Regions from separate parts of the Homo sapiens genome. Here regions 1, 2, 4 and 5 are each linked to region 3. Evidence: promoter capture Hi-C in human tissues and cell types (Jung and others, 2019). All regions are on one chromosome and are shown on one strand. The core of a region is centred on a gene start or on the middle of the fragment in contact, and the rest is flanking DNA. Distances in the headings are between cores, read along the strand shown.

The links. The method cuts DNA at HindIII sites, captures the fragments that hold promoters and counts their contacts. A contact is called where the count stands out against the background at its distance.
Region 1: a contact is called between a fragment that was not itself captured here and the fragment with the promoter of PIGZ in region 3, in 1 of the 25 tissues and cell types used here (aorta).
Region 2: a fragment that was not itself captured here is called in contact with the fragment with the promoter of PIGZ in region 3 in 2 of the 25 tissues and cell types used here (dorsolateral prefrontal cortex and mesendoderm cells).
Region 4: a fragment that was not itself captured here is called in contact with the fragment with the promoter of PIGZ in region 3 in 1 of the 25 tissues and cell types used here (dorsolateral prefrontal cortex).
Region 5: a contact is called between a fragment that was not itself captured here and the fragment with the promoter of PIGZ in region 3, in 3 of the 25 tissues and cell types used here (IMR-90 fibroblasts, dorsolateral prefrontal cortex and mesendoderm cells).

What each region holds. Positions count from the first base shown.
Region 1 is chr3:197,320,617-197,323,316 of GRCh38, reverse strand. No RefSeq gene overlaps it. Among named protein-coding and RNA genes, the nearest start is that of DLG1, 23 kb to the right of the region's middle. The HindIII fragment of the contact is 6,318 bases long and covers 1-2,700 here.
Region 2 is chr3:197,230,035-197,232,734 of GRCh38, reverse strand. The region is part of intron 4 of DLG1 (discs large MAGUK scaffold protein 1); the gene reads left to right. Among named protein-coding and RNA genes, the nearest start is that of MIR4797, 63 kb to the left of the region's middle. The HindIII fragment of the contact is 3,796 bases long and covers 1-2,700 here.
Region 3 is chr3:196,967,553-196,970,252 of GRCh38, reverse strand. PIGZ (phosphatidylinositol glycan anchor biosynthesis class Z (Gwada blood group)) reads left to right here and starts at 1,420. Exons shown (of 3, transcript NM_025163.4): 1 at 1,420-1,566. LOC124906255 (collagen alpha-1(I) chain-like) reads right to left here and starts at 1,120. Exons shown (of 3, transcript XM_047449439.1): 1 at 1,004-1,120; 2 at 41-857. The coding sequence starts at 1,120. The coding sequence ends at 42. RefSeq lists silencers at 81-300, 311-630, 741-800, 911-970, 981-1,190 and 1 more and enhancers at 236-771, 772-1,307, 1,308-1,843. The HindIII fragment of the contact is 30,202 bases long and covers 1-2,700 here.
Region 4 is chr3:197,302,992-197,305,691 of GRCh38, reverse strand. It overlaps DLG1-AS1 (DLG1 antisense RNA 1), which reads right to left. Exons shown (of 3, transcript NR_038289.1): 3 at 1,941-2,700. Among named protein-coding and RNA genes, the nearest start is that of DLG1, 5.7 kb to the right of the region's middle. The HindIII fragment of the contact is 5,403 bases long and covers 1-2,700 here.
Region 5 is chr3:197,433,241-197,435,940 of GRCh38, reverse strand. All of the region lies in intron 3 of LOC105374308 (a long non-coding RNA gene), which reads left to right. Among named protein-coding and RNA genes, the nearest start is that of LINC02012, 75 kb to the left of the region's middle. The HindIII fragment of the contact is 5,890 bases long and covers 1-2,700 here.

The sequences.
Region 1 (2,700 bases), core at 190-2,689, 350 kb before region 3:
TTTAGGAAGAGCTTTGAGGATAAAATGTATCTTTAGGGAGCTGTTAACTTAACCAGCCCAACCTGAAGTCTCCAGCAAAACTTTTTATTCCCATAATGTAAGTTTGTTAACTTAAAAAATTATTTAAAATAATTATAGGCTCACAGAAACTTTCAAAAATAGAGTCTATACTCTACACGTGTGGTGGCTCATGCCTGTAATCCCAGGACTTTGGGAGGCCGAGGCGGGTGGATTACTTGAGGTCAGGAGTTCGAGACCAGCCTGGTCAATATGGTGAAACCCTCTCTCTAATACAAATACAAAAATTAGCCGGCCATGGTGGCATATGCCTGCAATCCCAGCTACTCGGGAGGCTGAGGCAGGAGAACCGCTTGAACCTGGGAGATGGCGGTTGCAGTGAGCCGAGATTGTGCCACTGCACCTTAGCCTGGGCAACAGAGCGAGACTCTGTCTCAAAAAAAGAAAAAAATAGAGTATAGTCTCTTGAACCCAACTTCCCCAAGGGTGACATCTTGTATGACTGAAGTACAATATCTAAACTGACACTGACATTGGTACAACACTAGTAAGTATGCAACAGACCTTGTTCAGTTTTCACCAATTTTTATATGAACCCATTTGTGTGTACGCATGTGAGTGTGTAGTTCTATGCAACTTGCAATTTAACCCTGCATATAGATTGTGTAACCACCACAACAATCAAGATACAAAACTATTCCATCACCAAAAAGCAACTCCCTTTTCTTTAGGGTGATACCTTCCTAACCCATCCCTGTTTCCTAACAACCACGAACCTGCTCTCCATCTCTACAGTTTTGCCATTTGAGGGTGTTATGTAAATGAAATCATATAGGATATAACTTTTTGAGATCACCTTTTATCACTACACACAATATACCCTTATAATCCTTTCAAGTTGCATGTATGAGGAGTTCATTCCTTTTCATTGCTGAGTAGTATGCCATTGTAGGGATGTACCAGAGTCTGTTCAACCATTTACCCACTGAAGGACATTTATTTTGTTTCCAGTTTTATATTAATACAGATAAAGTTGCTATCAATGCCAATGTACAGTTTGTGTTCATTTCTCTAAGATAAATGCCCAAGGGTGTAATTGTTCAGTATAATAAGTGCACATTTATTTTGATAAGAAACAACCTGTTAGATAGGTTTTTTTGTTTTTGTTTTGTTTTGTTTTTTGAGATGGAGTCTCGCTCTGTCACTCAGGCTGGAGTGCAGTGGCATGATCTCGGCTTACTGCAACCTCTGCTTCCTGGGCTCAAGTCATTCTCCAGCCTCAGCCTCCCGAGTAGCTGGGATTACAGGCGCACACCACTATGCCCAGATAAGTTTTGCATTTTTTATTAGAGATGGGATTTCGCCCTGTTGTCCAGGCTAGTATCAAACTCCTGACCTCAGGTGATCTGCCTACCTCAGCCTCCCAAAGCGCTGGGATTACAGGCATGACCCACCCTGCCTGGCCTTTTTTTAATTTTTGAGACAGGGTCTCACTCTGTTGCCCAAGCTGGAGTTCAGTGACTCAATCATGGCTCACTGTAGCCTCGACCTCCCAGGTTCAAGTGATCCTCCCACCTCTGCCTCCTGAGTAGCTGGGACTACAGGAAGGTGCCACTGCACTCGGCTAATTTTTTATTTTTTGTAGAGACAGGTCTTACTGTGTTGCCCAGGCTGGTCTCAAACTCCTGGGCTCAAGAGATCCTTCCTCCTGCCTTGGCCTCCCAAAGTGCCAGGAGATAGTTTTTAAAAACAGCTTTATAGAAATAAAATTGACATGCAATAAACTGCACATATTGAAACTGTACATTATAAGTCTTGGCAAAAGTATATGCCCTGAAACCATTACCACAATAAAGATAACAAACACATTATTCTTTACTCCCCAAAAGTTTTCTTGTGGCCCTTTGTAATCTATTCTTCCTGCCCTTGCCTGCCCCCCACAACCCATCCCAAGGCAACACTGATCTGCTTTCTGTCACTATCAGTTAGTTTGCAGTTTCTAGAATTTGATATAAATGAGAGTTTGTTCTTTGGTGGGGGCAGGATCTAGCTTCTTTCACTAGCATAATTATTTTTGTATTCACCCATGTTGTCATGTGTATCAGTAACTAATTCATTCTTACTGCTGAGTGGTATTCCATTATATTGATGTACCATGATTTGTTGATCCATTTATCTGTTGATGAACACTTGGGTTGTTTACAGTTTGGGGCCCTTGCCAAAAAAGCTGCTATAAACATGCCTAGTGGATGTCCTCAGAAGTAGCCCAACTCCCTGGAACCTGAGACAAAAAGAGAGAAAGAGAGAGCAAGTAAGAAGGAGGGGCTCTGGCTTCTGCCAGAGAAAGGTCCAGATGATTGTGCCAGAACAGAAGCACCAGCAAATAGCACCTTTCATTTGTGTGGCACTTTGAAGTTCACAAAAACTTTTCACCTTCATTGTCTTCCATAACTTACACAACATCCTTCCCTGGCAACTGGGACAGGCATTACTATCACCAATTGACAGATAAGAAAACTGGTGCTCAGACATATTGAAGTGACTTGGCTAGGGGTCATATAAGCACCAGAGTCTAAGGGCATTATTAATCATTCTTACTGTCCTATGACCTCTTCCATTCTGGTGTTTAGGAAAAAAGCTCAGCTTCTCCACCTCAAGAAATTGTGGCACACACACAAACCT
Region 2 (2,700 bases), core at 77-2,576, 260 kb before region 3:
ATTTTAGGATCAACTGTGCGTTGCATATCATGTAGCCTTAAATGAGAACCACGGCAGATAATTTAATACCATTTGTTGAACAAATATTCATGAAGTGCCTGCAGGATGCATTTCTAACAAGTTCATTTGCTTCTGATGAATGTTCAAGATTTGGATCTAGTAGGTTAGAGGTCAGAGTTTCAGACCCATGATAACAAAGTTTTGTTTCCTCCATGAATTTATTTTTTAAATGGTTTTAAATATTTAAGCATAGAGCTATAAACCTAATACTGAGCCCAGTTCCAGCTTTTTCTAAAATAATAGTTTTCTTTTTGTTACCATGAGCAGTATCATTAGCATGGCTCTTCTTGCACCTTTTTTTTTTTTTTTTTTTAAGAGACAAGGTCTCTGTCATCCATGCTGGAGTACAGTGGCGTGATCATAGCTCACTGCAGCCAGAACTCCTGTGCTCAGTTGTCTTCCCCCCTCAGCCTCCCAAAGTGCTGGGATTACAGGAGTGAGCCACCATGCCTGGTCTTCTTTCACATTTTTATCACCCATTACTATGACAGAACAGTGCCACTCAGAGTAGAGTGGCAATCCAAATAGCTGTTTTTTGTGCTCAAATTTAGGTGATTGAGATTATACCAGGTTTCCTTTTAGAACAGATTTATAAATAGTAATACACAAAGCAAATTATTTGCATGAATTTGTTGGTGTTCCTCTGATTCTTATGCTCTCCATTGTGACCATGTACATTGCGGTTTCATGGTATGATTTGTATCTTACAGGTTTGCCCCATTATTGAAATTGTATGTAGTCACAGTTTAATTTGTTCATTTCTTCTAATTGGCTGTCTTCAACTGTGAAAGCAGCTGAAATTCTGTGGTTAATTGAAATCAGTCAAGGTAGTGCAGTTTGATCAAGAGTGAATGTTACTGCATTTGATTTGACATTAATTTTAATTTTCATTCAACATTTTATTTGGCAGAGTAGCATTTTAGTGGTTTTTGTTTTTTGGTTTTTGTTGTTTTGTTTTTTGTTGTTTTTTTTTTTTTAACAGGGTCTGGTTCTCTTCCCCAGGCTGGAATACAGTGGTGCAATCTTGACTCACTGCAACCTTCACCTCCCAGACTCAAGCCAACTCCCACCTCAGCCCCCCGAGTAGCTGGGACTACAGGCGCCTGCCACCATGCCTGGCTAATTTTTGTATTTTTTGTAGAGACAGGGTTTCGCTCTGTTGCCCAAGCTGGTCTTGAATTCCTGAGCTTAAGCGACCCGCCCGCTCGGCCTCCCAAAGTGTTGGGATTATAGGTGTAAGACCACACCTGGCTGTATGTTAGTATTCTTACAACAAAATGTAATCAGTTGTATGGTATTTTTGCTAAATCAACTTTGTAAGCCTACTTATAACAGAAATGTCCACATTATTGTGGGCTATTCTTTGCCAGACAAATTGATGGCAAATTCATAGGTATCTAATGTCACTGCTTAATTCCTGCCGTTTCAAAAAGACAGCAAATAAGCAAACCACAGCATTAATTCTTCACGTAATTTAAGAAAAATAGTGTTTCTCTAACTCCATTAATCATTTAAATCCCATATGGTTCTCTTACAGCAGTGTGATCTAGCTGCATTTCTTCACTGTTAAGAACTGTTAGGCGCTTCTGTTGGAGATAGTTTCTAATGTTGAAATTATCAGTGAATGTTCATTAATTCTTCATGTTGAAGCTGTCACCATGGAAACTTAGGTGTTATAGCAACTAGTTATATGCTATAACTTACTTAGCATTAAGATGATTAAATAACATACTATATGTAAAGCAGTTGGAAGAATCATGGAAAGCAATGTCATTTCTTAGCAGATACTACTATCATTTTATTCTTGTTTTTTGGCAAGTGTGAAAATTAAATTCAAATATTCTTTAAGATGTATACTTCTGGTCTTGAGATGTAACATCACTTTGTGATCTTACCTAAGTCCTCTGCTCTGTAGGAATTACAATTGTTTACATAAAGATGCTATTACTATCTTTGGTATGAAACTCAAATATTTATCAATAGATTTACCATGATGTTTTGAAAATCAGTGGGATTGGGGACAGTGACATGTCAAAATCATCTAGGAATTAAAAAAGAAAAGCACAACACTGCTTATTTAAACACTGCTGGTCTACAAGTTTAGCTTCTTTTGGACTTAAAAAATTTGTTAGCTTACCCTTGTTTTATGATAGTAACAATAACTCAGCATTTGTTTGATAATGAGTTAATATATAATGAAAAAATTTCATGACTAAATAGTTGGATGTTTTTACTATATTGTTTGATCTCCAGTTAATGTGACAGGTGAAGGAGTTTGGTTGGGTGTTGCTCTTGTATTTTAACCCTTTTATAAGATTTCAGTTGACAGTGAAATTTTAAACATGGAACTGTAATATGTAATATAGGTAGTATTTATTACCATATATTTACTTAATAAATTCATATTTACATTTGTTTATTATATAAATCTAAACAGGCAGTTTTGAGTAGTGCAAACATTTTGATAACATTAATCTCAGCATCTTTTTTTCCCTCTATTTTGTTATACAGTACTGAGAAAAATCCAATTTAAACAGATTAGTAATTGAAAACTGTTTTAAAGCTTGCCTGATAGCCTTAAATTGTCATTCTAGCAGGTAGAAAGAATAGTAAGGACTTTGGACTTGACTCGCCAAATAT
Region 3 (2,700 bases), core at 171-2,670:
GTACTTAAATTTCCTGGTATTTATCGTATGTATAGAATACCTCACATCTTAATAAAGTCGTCGTTTTTAGTGTGAGGGGTGCTATGGGGCACGGAGGGCGATCCGGCTGCCGACCCTCGGCGGCGGCGCGGGAGTGCGAGGCCGGCGGGGAGGTCGGGTCCTGCGGCCTCGCCGGGGCCCCTGCAGCGCTCTCCCGCCAGGGGGCAGCGTCGGGCCGGCGGCGCGGGCGGGAAGCTCCAGCGGCCGGGACGCGGTGGTGCCGTCTTCCCCCTGCGGTGAGGGACCGCGTCGCGCCACCCCGCTCTCAGCGCAGCCCGCAGCGGCGAGGCCACCGGGTGGGACACGGGTGCCCGCGCGTCGCGCCGCAGCTCGCGGGGACCTGGCGCCCCGTCCCGGGAGGGGATCTGGCCCCCGGGCGCCGGCTCTCCGTCCACGCGGCGTCCTCCCTGCAGCCCGCTAGGGCCGCTCGCCCGTCGCCGCCTGCGGAACGCGGAGGGGCAGCACGGCCACGCCCGGCCACTCGAACCTGCTCCCCGGCGCCGCGTGACCGTGTCAGGTCCCCGTCGGCCTCGCCGTGCCGACCCCGGGCGCCTCCACAGTGGCTCGGAGGCCGCTGCTGCCCGGATGCCCGGGTTCCACGAGGCTCTCCCAGCCCGACAAGCCCGCCGATCCCACGGGCACGGGCGGAGGAGAGGGAACCGCCGCGCCCGCCCCGCGCGCCGTCGCCGACCCCGGTGGGTCGCGCTTCCCCGCGCACGCCGCGCTCTGGCGCGGGGAGAGGCCCCTCGGGGTCCGCCCGGGTCAGCGTCCCGCGGGGGTGGCGGCCGTTCGCTCAGCCTCCTCTCGACTTCCCTTTCCTGTCAGGGCTGCTGGGGCTGACAGGCTCCCGGGCAACCACGCCGGGGAACCCCTCACGCCCGCCGATCGCTGCGGGGCTCAGCAGCCGCCCCGTGCGCTGAGTCCCCTGTCATGAGTGACTCCATTGCGAGGCGTTTCGGGCCACGAAGCAGGACCGGGGGCCGCACTCCGGGTCCCCGCCCTGCCCTCGCCGACCTCCCGCGCGTGGAAGGGGGACGGCGGCGGCGGAGCTCCCCGCCACGGAGAACCCCGAAATGGTCATTTCGAACGAGAGGAGTGTGGCCTGGGGTGTCTGGTTTAACAGCCCCCCGCGCCGAAAGGCTGTTCGCCGAGGAGGGGCCGCCGGGGAGGGAGCCCGAGCGCGGCGGGGCGAGACCGGTCCCCGCCCGGCGTTGCCCGGCCCGAGGGACGGCGGCGCCCCCAGGACCCTCCCCAGCGCGGCCCCAGCTCGCTCCGGGACCGCGGGGCCAGGCCGGGCGGGAGCGCGGGGACGTACACGGCGGCCCCGCCCGCGCGCTCCTCCTCCCTCCCGGCCCGCCCTGCGCCGGCGGCGGCGGCCCCAGTCTCCGCGCTGCTGAGGCGCGCCCGGCCGCTCCCACGGCCTCCCCTCCGCCCTGCGGTCCCGCCGCCTCCGGGGCCTCCTGGGACCCTGGCCCTCGCCGGGCAGGACGCCGCCAGCGCTGAAGGCGCAGCCCGGAGGCCGCGCGGGTGAGTCGGTGCGCAGCCCCAGCGGCTCCAGAGGAGCGGGTGCGGGGAGGGCGAGCGGACCAAGTCGGCCGCGTTCCCACCTTGCGCGCAGCCGGGAGACCAGCAGGCCCAGCCTCTAGGGAGGAGGGCAGGGGAGCTGGGGGCCGCCCCCCGCATTCTCGCAGGCACCTGTCCCTAGGCCGGGGTCCGCTGGCTCGAAGCACTGACCCGCCCCGGACCTAGGGGGACGGAGGCAGCGGTGACATTTGCCCAGGAAGGGCGGCAGTGGGTAAACTCCACTCCAGGGCACGGGTCTGGGCGCAGGTTGAGGCCTGGGGTTGAATCTGCTTCTGCTAGAGGCCAGTGTTCTCAGGGAGGCCCATAACCCGACTGGGTCTCAGTTCCCCCTGGTATGAAACAGCAACAGGGCAAGAGGAGGAAACCATGCCACGCTGCAAAGCTCTGAGCACGAAGCCGAGAAGAATCTCGGCTCCCGGCCTCGGGGGCTGCACTTCGGGCCAGGCCTGCACTCCCAGGATAAGAGGATGGCCTCCTGCCCCAGGGGTGGCATGGGGGCGCGCAAAAAGCAAAGGTGACCCTGCCAGGGAGCACCCAGCGCTCCGGTTGGTGGTCATGGGGTCTTTGCGTGGGACTCACAGTGTGGCCGGGAAAGTTCTGTAATGAGGACATTTCTCATCATTCCTTCTTCTCAAAAGTCATTCGTCAGCCCCAGACACCTTTGCCTCGGAAAACTGAGAACTACTTTCAAAATCGTCAACACCCCCATCTCCTGCTACAGAGCGGAGTCCCCACTTTGCAGAGGCGCACTGCAAGGTCGCGGGTGGTTAAATGGTGCGCCCTCCTTGATGAAGATGCCTTGTTCTCTTTCACTCTCTATGTGTGTTTAATGTTGTGTGTTGCGTTCTCTGTGAAGCGAAGGATAAACACGGGCCCTTTCAGGCAACCGAAGGAAGAAGGCGGCCAGCATCAGATCTTCCCGTGCTTCAAGGTGGAGCACCCTGCAGGGCTTACTGCAGCGCTCAGGGTCAAAGTGAGGATGCAGTGCGGCACCAAAAGGCAAATGGACTCTGGAGAGCCACTCTCACCTTGTACCCCTGGAGTAGACCCCGAGGACTGGAGGACTGGAACAAGATC
Region 4 (2,700 bases), core at 183-2,682, 340 kb before region 3:
ATGGAGTCTTGCTCTGTCACCCAGGCTGGAGTGCAGTGGCACAATCTCAGCTGACTGCAACCTCCGCCTCCCGGGTTCATGCGATTCTCCTGCCTCAGCCTCCTGAGTAGCTGGGATTACAGACGGGCACCACCATGCCTGGCTAATTTTTGTAGTTTTAATAGAGATGGGTTTCACCATGTTGGTAAGGCTGGTCTCAAACTCCTGACCTCAAGCAATCCACCTGCCTTGGGCTCCCAAAGTGTTGGGATTACAGGTGTGAGCCACCGCGCCTAGCCACTCTTCTTTTTATTAAGGATGGAGGAACAAGTTTCTCTTTGTTCTAATATTTTTGGAGTCTTTTTCCAAGAGAAAAAAAGAATAGAGATACAGCTTTATTCTGCTCTTTTGAACCCAAGCTTCTCCAAATTATTATGGTAGCATTTCTTATTAAATATTTACTTCTCTCTTATTCTTAAATTGCTTTGTTCATCTTCATTAGTAATTGGTAAAGGCCCATCCCTTTTAAATTTTTGACTCATTGTCTCCTACTCCCTTCGAGCTTGGCTTTGTTTATTCATGTGGTAATTTGCAAGTTGAAATGATATCCAACTTGGGAAAATTTTGCAGGATTTTTAAAAAGCATATTTGGAAAAGTTTCTTCAACTGCCGCCCAATTTATTTATAAAAGGCAGAAGATGCTTTAATCACAAATATTTAATCTCAGTTGATAAAATTGTCTTGGGAAGAAATTAATTTAATCTAAAGAAAATTTAAATAGAAAGCAAGATTTAAATGATTCATTATCGTTACCGTTCTTGTGAGTGTAAAATAGAAGAAAATAATAAAGGAATTTAGGGTTATACAACATGAGGAATAGGAAAATGACAGCCCTAGTGAGTGTCACTTCCCAAAAATGAAAGACTGGCACACAGGTCTTTGTTTTGGAAGGTTGTGGCAGTTTTCCATCCTAAATGAGATTGGTCACTGGACACAGTCCACATATAATTATGAAGAATCTTCTGGCTTCTCCACTTACCAGAATTCTATTCAGGTCATATCTCAGAAATGGAATACAAATGACTTCCTAAAATTCTAATAGCATTTCTTCAAATTCCAATTAAGTTTCCAAGTTTATCTTCTCTACCTACATAAGGATAATCTGACTGAAGGGCCCTGGCCAAAGCCTTCTGTGAACAGACAATGGTCATTCTCTTGGCAGGGGGTGGGGTGAAGAGGTTGTTTCATGTAAGGAGATTTTAGTATAATCCTGAGGATTTCCATATGGGATCCTACGGTTCTGTCAATACCACAAGTTCTTCAAAAGCAGAAAAGCAAATTTGGTTAAACTTAGAAACGTATCTCTAGAAAAGATTACTAATTTCTCCTTACCCCCAGCCCCTTCTCTCTAAAAGAAAGATGGATGGTTCTGGAAATGTCAGTAGCTTTCTGCCATCAGGGAAAAGTCCTCTGATAATTGTGTGCCGACGTTGTCTGGGAGCTCTTCTGGAGCTTACTTTACGTGCTTCTCAAACATGGGGATGGGAGTTGATGGGATCTGAGGGCACTTCCAGTTTGGATGTCCCGTCATCCAGAAAACCTCTCTCATACTTAAGGAAATGAAATGAAGGAGAGAAGGAAGCTACAGGGTATTTTAAATATATACCTTTGCATTAAAAAGAAACCCAAAAAACTCCGAAACAAAAAACCAACCCGTTTAGTTATAACATACCACCAGGGTGCGGATATGCATTTCTTCAAGGCCCTATTTCCATCAAAACTGTCTCCATTGTTAAAGGCATTCAAATATATGACAAGTACACTGTACAACAGACTAGCCCATGACTTGTGCCTTATTTTATCTGAATCTCACTCAGCCTCTCTCTTTTCTCTTTCGCTTAGTCTTTCTCTATCTCTGTCTCTCTCTCACACACATATACACCACTCTGTGCCCAGTGTTTTTTGTTTTGTTTTGTTTAATTTAGAAAAGGAGCCAAGTAGAGAAAAAGCAGCATAGATTAATCGAAGAAACAATGAACTAATGTTCAGCCCAGCTCCAGCCAGCTGTGGGGTCCTAAACCAAGTTATCTCAGTTTCCTCTTCCTCTGTGCTCTCCTTTGCAAAGTGGGAGACCATAACCAACGAGTTTATCTTATCGGTTGCTGTGGACCTGCAGTGAGTTAAATCTGCCTTTGAACACTGTATGAGAGGCTATACCACTCTCCGGATAGACCAGTTTACACGGGAGGCAGTTATTAGTCCTATGCTGATTTAGTACTCCATTATACCACACTCCAGGAATCTTAGGGTGGCTCTTCCATTAAAAAGCATTAATTCAGTGCCTAACTACCTATCATGGAGATGGTCAACTGTCCACATTTTAAAGGGAATTGGTTTCAACCTGTAGCTTTTATTCTGTTAAGAATTATCTATGAGAAAGAGATCAGTCTTGGTACCACCAAAACTGGGTAGAACGAATTCTTGATGTAGACTAAAGGGTGCTAATACCATTTCAGTATTCAGCAGGGACTGAGGTTTCAACAGCTTAGAACTGTGGTCTCAGAGGTCACGTGGTTCAACCTTATGTCCTGGGTATCTACCACCCTCTGACACAGAATCCTTGCTGGCTTCATTCAGCACCTTCCTGATTAAAAAAAAAAAAAAATTTCCACTACCTTGAGGCAGCTCTTTGGAATTTTGGACAGTTTCTGACAACTCATG
Region 5 (2,700 bases), core at 25-2,524, 470 kb before region 3:
AAGAGAGAGAGACAGAAAAGGACTACATTCTAGTAGAAAATATAAACAATAAATAAGTAAAAAACAAATATAAACATGAACTATAAAAATATCAGAGTGGTAAGTGCTATGCAAAAAATTAAAATAGAGTGATGGGCTAGAGAGAAGTTGAGTGGCCCCTTTGGAGGAGTTGGTCAGCGAAGTTCGGCAAAAAATATACTTCTTGTGGGCTTCTGAGTTGAGCATAAGTAACTCTATACTTATTATTGAAGTAAATTGTATTACTTGTCTCCACATGCCTTAGAGCTTTTGTGTGTAGTTTTTTCTGACATTTACAGTTTGTAAAGTATTTGGCAATAATTTAATAACAGGCCACGCTTGTTTTCTCTTAAGCTTCTATTATATTGGATTAAGATAGTCCAGTCTACTTCCAGTAGAAGTGGATGGAGTGAAAGATGTTGCTTCTTTGGCTCAAACTGCAAATAAGTCTGATAACCTTGCATAGAGAGCAATTTCCATGAAGAAAAATGGGGGAAGCAATCAATTCACTAAAGGAGGAATCAGAGGAAAGGAAATGAGGGCATTGGATATAGGAAACAGGGACCACAAGTTGGGAGCAATCTTCTCATTCTACTTGATGGGAACATTATACCTCCTTTCTTGTCTGTCATTTAATGGAGCTAATACTGAGCCATGGGTCATTTCCCCGTAAAACAACCTCTTGTTTTCTCTGAAAGGATCCTCTCAGGAATACACAATGCTTAATAGCCTTGCTCAGACACTCAGTCTAATGGTGACACCCTAAAACAACAAGCATATTGGCAATTGCAAACTAAGGTTTCTGAGACTTTACAGAAAGAATCACCAATAAGAGAGTAACAAGCCCAAGGAAAGGTCAGCTCATGCCAGTTTGGAGGCTGGCCTATTCCCGCCGAGTAGGCAGATGCAGCCATCTCCTCCCCAAGGGAGGACCACTAATGAGCGCAGCTCTGTGATTTAAAGAGCTATCGATTTGTCCGTGACATTCAAGTATTTCTGAAGAACAGGGTTTGAAATATGCTGTTTCATAGCATTTTACCCCAAATGGCCGCATCGAATAGAGATTGGAATAATATATAGAAATGAAAGGCACCGTATTCCCTTAAACCTCATTATCCTTTTGATTAGCCAATTCACATTCTGTTCAACATTCTGCTTAATTTGCTTTTTCTGTATGGTGAGATCAATAACTTTAAGTGTTGTTTCTCGAAGTTGCTATTACTGGTGGGAGACTCAACAAGTTAACAGTCACCACGTGTAATATCAGTAGCTTAAGTGCACAATACCTAGCTGGGCATGGAGGCGCGTGCCTGTAATCCCAGCTACTTGGGAGGCTGAGGCAGGAGAATTGCTTGAACCTGGGAGGCAGAGGTTGCAGTGAGCTGAGATCGCACCACTGCATTCCAGCCTGCACGACAGAGTGAGACTCCATTAAAAAAAAAAAAAAAGTACAATACCAAATGGGAGGGATCTGAAGTGATTCTTCCTTTTGTCTTCCCTGTGAGAGGGACAATTTGCTGACTTCTGAGGGGAAAATCTAGGGGAAGATTTGTAAAAGTCATCTTCTAGTATAAAGAGATACTTGTGTTTTGGCTTCTCAGAGGACTAGAGCCCTCATTGCCAAGCGGAGACAGGAGACTATGTGGAGAGAGGAGACTAGTTAAGTGGAGAGAGTTATGTGGAGAGAGGAGACTAGTTATGTGGAGGGAGGAGACTAGTTATGTGGAGAGAGAAGACTAGTTATGTGGAGGGAGGAGACTAGTTATGTGGAGAGAGGAGACTAGTTATGTGGAGAGAGTTATGTGGAGAGAGGAGACTAGTTATGTGGAGAGAGGAGACTAGTTACGTGGAGAGAGTTATGTGGAGAGAGAAGTGCTCGTTGGCTAAAGGAAGACACCTTCTTCATGCTGTTTGGGTCAGTCAATAATAGGAAGAGTTTCTGCTTAGCAGGGAGCTAAAGCTGAGGTTTGACATAGCAGAGCTGCCGTATGTGAAAATGGAGGTGGGAGTAGTGGCGGGCAAGCCCTCTTCCCAGCCCAGCCCACAGCCCCTTCTCAGAGAATCAACTCCCTGTCTCCCTGCTGAGTCCCCTCAGCACTCACTCCCTTAACCGTCTGCCACAGCTGATTAGATCGTGGGCAGGCACGTAACTCCAGCTGGTCCAGTCAGACACGTTCTGACCTAGGAATGTAAATTTGGGTCGCGGAAACTTAGATTTTTTTTTTTTTTTTTTTTTGAGATGGAGTCTCGCTCTGTCATCCAGGCTGAAGTGCAGTGGCACAATCTAAGCTCTGCTCACCGCAATCTCTGTCTCCCAGGTTCAAGTCATTCTCCTGCCTCAGCCTCCTGAGTAGCTGGGATTGCAGGCATGCACCACCACACCTGGCTAATTTTTGTATTTTGAGTAGAGACAGGGTTTCACCATGTTGGCCAGGCTGGTCTTGAACTCCTGACCTCATGATCCACCAGCCTTGGTCTCCCAAAGTGCTGGGATTACAGGCATGAGCCACCGTGCCCGGCTGGAAACTTAGGTTTCTGATAAGCACTTGAACTATGGGTTGGTTATTGCTATGGTTTGAATGTATGTGTACCTCCAAAACTCAACTGTTCAGATCTAATACCCAACGCGATCGTATTAAGAGGTAGGGTCTTTTGGGAAGTGATTAAGTCATGAGTATTCTA